2 separate regions of the Homo sapiens genome follow, and region 1 is linked to region 2. The links are contacts of gene promoters, found by promoter capture Hi-C in human tissues and cell types (Jung and others, 2019). All regions are on one chromosome and are shown on one strand. The core of a region is centred on a gene start or on the middle of the fragment in contact, and the rest is flanking DNA. Distances in the headings are between cores, read along the strand shown. Region 1 overlaps AP1G1 (adaptor related protein complex 1 subunit gamma 1). Region 2 holds the start of ST3GAL2 (ST3 beta-galactoside alpha-2,3-sialyltransferase 2).

Evidence for each region. Contacts are between HindIII fragments. The study calls those that stand out against the background at their distance.
Region 1: a contact is called between a fragment that was not itself captured here and the fragment with the promoter of ST3GAL2 in region 2, in 1 of the 25 tissues and cell types used here (dorsolateral prefrontal cortex).

The regions. Positions count from the first base shown.
Region 1 is chr16:71,734,227-71,737,117 of GRCh38, reverse strand. It overlaps AP1G1 (adaptor related protein complex 1 subunit gamma 1), which reads left to right. Exons shown (of 23, transcript NM_001128.6): 22 at 2,411-2,509. Among named protein-coding and RNA genes, the nearest start is that of PHLPP2, 11 kb to the right of the region's middle. The HindIII fragment of the contact is 3,526 bases long and covers 1-2,891 here.
Region 2 is chr16:70,437,686-70,440,385 of GRCh38, reverse strand. ST3GAL2 (ST3 beta-galactoside alpha-2,3-sialyltransferase 2) reads left to right here and starts at 1,286. Exons shown (of 7, transcript NM_006927.4): 1 at 1,286-1,437. RefSeq lists silencers at 1,135-1,314, 1,415-1,614. The HindIII fragment of the contact is 4,621 bases long and covers 1-2,700 here.

The sequences.
Region 1 (2,891 bases), core at 363-2,862, 1.3 Mb before region 2:
TGCTTAAAGGAATAAATAAGTTTTTTGAATCAGGCACTGTTTGAAGCACTTTTCATCTGTTCAGTGCTCAGTATATTTAGTTTCTTCAACTTAGGTTTTATACTTGTTACTTTAGGCTGCTGCTCTAGTGACTTATCACTTCTGCTATTAAAACATGACATTTTTGGTGGTGTACTGTACAGTGCAACATGATAATGTATTTTCAACTTAAAATGTCATATTTTGCTGGGCGCGGTGGCTCACGCCTGTAATCCCAGCACTTTGGGAGGCCGAGGCAGGCGGATCCCACGAGGTCAGGAGATTGAGACCATCCTGGCTAACACGGTGAAACCCCGTCTCTACTAAAAAAAAAAAAAAAAAAAAAATTAGCCGGGCGTGGTGGCGGGCGCCTGTAGTGTCAGCTACTTGGGAGGCTGAGGCGGGAGAATGGCGTGAGCCCGGGAGGTGGAGCTTGCAGTGAGCCGAGATCACCCCACTGGACTCCAGCCTGGGCAACAGAGCGAGACTCGTCTCAAAAAATAAATAAATAAATAAATAAATAAATAAATAAATAAATAAATAAATAATAAATTAGCCGGGCGTGGTGGCGGGCGCCTGTAGTCCCAGCTACTCAGGAGGCTGAGGCAGGAGAATGGCATGAACCTGGGAGATGGAGCTTGCAGTGAGCCGAGATCGCACCACTGCACTCCAGCCTGGGCGACAGAGCGAGACTCCATCTAAAAAAAAAAAAAAAGTCATATTTTATAGGTTCTACTATGTACTAATTTCGTGTTTTAATGTTTCTAAAATTAGGATACATTTAAAAATTGGTATCTTGTCATAATTCAGTGGGCAGCATGTTTTCTATCTCAGTGGTACATAAAATAATGGTGTGAATTACGATTGGTATCTTACATTTAATGAAATATGGTAGTAATGAATAATACTTTAGCTTACATAATTTTAATGTGGCAGAATTATGAATAAGACCATATATATATATATATATATATATATATATTTTTTTTTTTTTTTTTTTTGAGATGGAGTCTCACTCTGTCACCCAGGCAACCTCTGCCTCCTGGGTTCAAGCAAATCTCTTGCCTCAGCCTCCTGAGTAGCTGGGATTACAGGCATGCGCCACCATACCCAGCTAATTTTTGTATTTTTAGTAGAGATGGGGTTTTGCCATGTTGACCAGACTAATCTAGATCTCCTGACCTCAGGTGATCTGCCCGCCTTGGCCTCCCAAAGTGCTGGGAATACCGTGCCCAGCCCCCAGTGTAATATATCTGTACATTGAGAGTGAATCTTCACTCTTGCAACTTTTGGCCCTAGAGAAGACTAGTGTCTCTCTCTCTCAAATATTTTAGAAGTTTAATCTACTTTTAGGAAAGATTTTCAAATGCTAGTTCATACAATAGCTACGTAGTACAGTATGGTTTACCTAGCTTGCCCTATATAGCACTTTTTTTTTTTTTTTGAGACGGAGTCTTGCTCTGTTGCCCAGGCTGGAGTGCAGTGGCACAGTCTCGGCTCACCACAACCTCCTGGGTTCAAGCGATTCTCCTGCCTCAGCCTCCCGAGTAGCTGGGACTACAGGCATGTGCCACCATGCCCAGCTAATTTTTGTATTTTTAGTAGAGACGGGGTTTCACTGTGTTGGCCAGGCTGGTCTCGAACTCCTGACCTCGTGATCCGCTCGCCTTGACCTCCCAAAGTGCTGGGATTACAGGCTTGAGCCACCACACCCAGCCAGCACTTTCAACTCTTATTTCTATAAGCAAGCAAATAAACCCCACCAGCATTCAACAAATTAATACTGTTTGGCTTATCTAGGTCTTTTGCTGTATAGGCTGGTTCTGCAAGTCTTTCCGTTCCTTCTGTCATGTGGAGAGGAGGCTCTGACACATTATAGATTATGCAGGCTTTAAAAAACAAAAGTTCAAGTCTCTGCATCCCAGTTATCCAATCACACAAAAGCCTAAAAGCTTATAGTTGGTGACCAGTATGTTGGTTTGCTATTTTTGGGAAGCTTTTCTTTTCATTTCTTTCTGGCTGTTTTTTAAGCCAAAAGCACCGATATTTTACTTGCATAGTTGATCAGTTACCATTAAGTGAAGTTGCCAGAAGAAGAATTGGTCAGCTTTTGAAAAGAGGTAGGCTAGAATTCCTTCTGCCAGAAAGGAGAATGTGGTTTATTACTAGTTGTCATGATCAAAGAACCGAACAGTGGATTTTTACAAATACCACAGGGAGTCAACTCACGTGCTGTGAATTCCTGATATCTAGAAAACAAGTAGTAGGCAAAACTTAGTAGTAGTGAAATCTGTTGCTTGACCCATCATCTGGGTGTCTAAATGGTTTTTGGTATCTCTGACCTAGCGTTGTGTAATTCTTTTTCTGAAGAGTGCCCTTTGTTCCCCCCTAGACATTCCAGCTGCAGCTCTTGTCTCCTAGCAGCAGCATTGTCCCAGCATTTAACACGGGGACCATCACACAAGTCATTAAAGTTCTGAACCCTCAGAAGGTGAGTAGCACATTTGTAGCCAATATCTGAGCCGAAGTGTAAGCATATTTCCCGAAATAAAATTCTGCTTTGTTTCTTTAGGTTTTTCTGACTCATAGTTAGAGAAGAGATCAATGAAAATGCCTGGTCTAACTTCCTTGCTCTTTTGTAAATAACAAATGGAACCCAGAGACATCAGGTGGCTTAGTGGCATCTTATTAAAATGCAACTTCAAAAAAAGCTAGATTAAAGGTCTGGTTTTTGGGGGTAGGGGAGAAGCTTAGACATTTTAATTTATACACAAGTTGAAATCTGAGGTAAGAGCATTTGTTGAAACCAAATACCTACATTTACTGCTACAGTTATTAAGTATGAATAGAAAAATAGAGGCATTTTAAATGAA
Region 2 (2,700 bases), core at 37-2,536:
ATCACTGCACTCCAGCCTGGGCGACAGTGAGACCTTGAGCAAAAACAAAGAGCGTTCCTGTGCTAAAGGGGACTAGACTGGGACCCTGCCTTTCCGGGTTTGGCTCTTCAGGGCCATTATTAATTATCCCACACAAGGGCCATCCTTGAAAGAGGATACCGGTGTGTTAGCAGCAAACACCAACAGCAGAGGTTATCAGGTTATCAAGGTAGTAACCGGCAGCATGAGCAACACCTGGAGACGGGGTAGCAATGCCAATTCTGGGGCCTGCCCTAGAGCTAAAAGAACCAGAAGCTGAGGGTGGGGGCAGCAATCTGCGTTTAAACAAGCTGGCCAAGAGGATCCCATACACACCAAAAATTCAGAACCACTTCAGCCTCACTTCAGCCTGTTGGAGGGCGAAACTGCAGTCTACCTGGAGTTTCATAAAGGTTTTGAAATAGGTGCGGAAGTTAGGGAAAGGATGGGCTAATAAAAGACATGGCAAATATTTAAAATGCATTCACTTTACCCTCAACAGCAGGAAGCTACGGGCATCTAAGAGAGAGCCTGCAAGGGGGAGATGCCCCGGTGGATGAGGAACCAATAGACACTCTGCCCCCTTTTCCTCTTTTCCTAGGTGGGGAACACAAAGTCCAGCGAGGCCAAACCCCCGCTCGCACCGCTGATGGGGTCTCTCTCCCCTCAGGCCAGGGCGCAGCGGCCCCACCGCAGCTCGGGCTTTCAGAGCCCGGGCGTGAAGCCAAGCTGGCCTCAGGTCGCGGCTCTTTGAGAGCGCGAGTGGGAACAGTGCCCTCCGGCCGGGCTCGTCAGCAGCTGGCCACAGCAGCATCTGAGAGGCGTCCTCGGCTAGTGTGCACCTCCCTAGGAACCCACGTATCCAACCCGGCTCGGGGCCGTCTGCTCCAGCCGCTGGAGCCCGGCCTTCTGAGAATGAAGACTTCCCATCCCCCTCCGTCTCCCCTCCTGCACGGCGGACCCCCTGAGCCCTAGCGAAACTACAAAGCCCACAATCCCTGGGATGCGCGCGCTGTCTTCTGGGAGATGTAGTCCTGGATGCGGGGCGCCCCTAGCGACCCAGCGCCCGCTGGACTCCATATCCCAGCATGCCGGCGCGCGTGCGGGGGGCGGAGGGAGGGAGAGACGGGGAGGATGTGAATGGGGTGGGGGCAGTCGCCCCTGTCCCCCACCCTTCCCTTCAAGCCGGGCAGGGGTGGGGGGAGGGGCCGGGCTGAGGCGGCGGCGGCGGCGGCGCTCGGGGAGGGTTGGGCCAGGCAAGGGCGGGACTAGCCCACGGCGGGCGGACGAGAGAGCTGCGAGCTAACGGGTCCGGACGACGGCGGCGGCGGCGGCGGCGGCGGCGACGGCTTTCTGCGCGGGCGGCGGCGGCGGCCGGAGCGGCGAGCATGGCCCGCGCGGCGCCGGGCGCTGACTGAGGTGCGCGGGTGGGATGAGGGCGGGCGGGATGCAGAGCGCCCCGGGCCCCCGGCTGCCCAGACCTCCCCTGCGCGGGCAGCTGGCGCGGCCCAGCGGCCCAGACCGGCCCGTTCCAGCCCGGCAACTTCCCCCGGGTCGGGGCGCCGGGCTCCCTCGTGTGGGCGGGGGTCCGCGCGCGTTGGCCTCATTCCGGATCCCCGCCTTCTGCTTTGCACGTCCAGCCGCTCCCAGCCTCCCAGGGCTCCCGCTCCGCTCCTTTGCCGGCAGCCCCCAACCCCAACCCCAGCCCCAGCCCCAGCCCTCGGAAGAGCTCTCTGCCCTGGTCCCGACTTCCAGTCCACTCCCTAGTTCGTACCGCTAACCCTGGGTCTCCCGGCCTCTGCTCCACCTGGGAGACCCCGGCCCCACTCTTGGCCAGAGCCTGTCTGCCCCATCAGCTCCTCTTTCCTCTCTCCCCTGTGATCTTTCCCCTACCTGGCACTGCCCCCTAACCATCCTCAGTGGCCCAGTTCTCACGGCTCGACCTTCCTACTTTGGGGAAACTGAGGCACGGCTGAAGCCAGAAACTTGGCCAAAGCGCCAGTCCCGTGGAGGCTGGTCTGAACCTCGTCTCTCCTCTCTCCTGTTCCTTCTCTGCCTTGGAATGGAAGTCATTTCTTACCCCCAGTCATTCCCCTGTGACTGGACCAAACTTCCCACCCCCTGCTACAGCTCTGGGCTGAGCTCACTTGAGTCTCCCCTTAGCTTCCTGCCGCTCCTGTTGGCCTTCCCTCCTTCGCATAACCCACTCCGGGTTCCCTCTGCCTGTAGAGGAGTCAGCACCAATTGCTTGCTTGCTCAAGTTAGCCTTTCGATTTATCTTTTGCCAACTGCATCCATCTCCCGTCTCCCATCTTCCCTCTTGCTTTACAGCTGCGTAAAGGAGCGGAGGATTGAGTCAAAGGTGGTGTTGGAGAAAGGGGCTAGAGAGGTGCTGGGGGCAGGCAGGGACCTGGGGCCTCTTTTCAGTCAAAGCCTCCGGGGGAGTACAGGGCACTCTGGGACCTCTGGCCAGTAACACACTCCCGCCTCGTCTTTGGGACGGATGTTTGGAAGCTGGTTGGCCACCCCTTCCTTGCCTGGTGGGCTCTGAAGCCCTTCTCAGGTGGAAGGTATCGCTGGTTTTTAGAGAGATGGTGGCATAAGAGGAGTCTGGGAGACCACACCCCTAAGCTTCATCTTGCTTCTGCTGCTAACTTTGGAGGGGTTGCCCTTTCAGGGAGG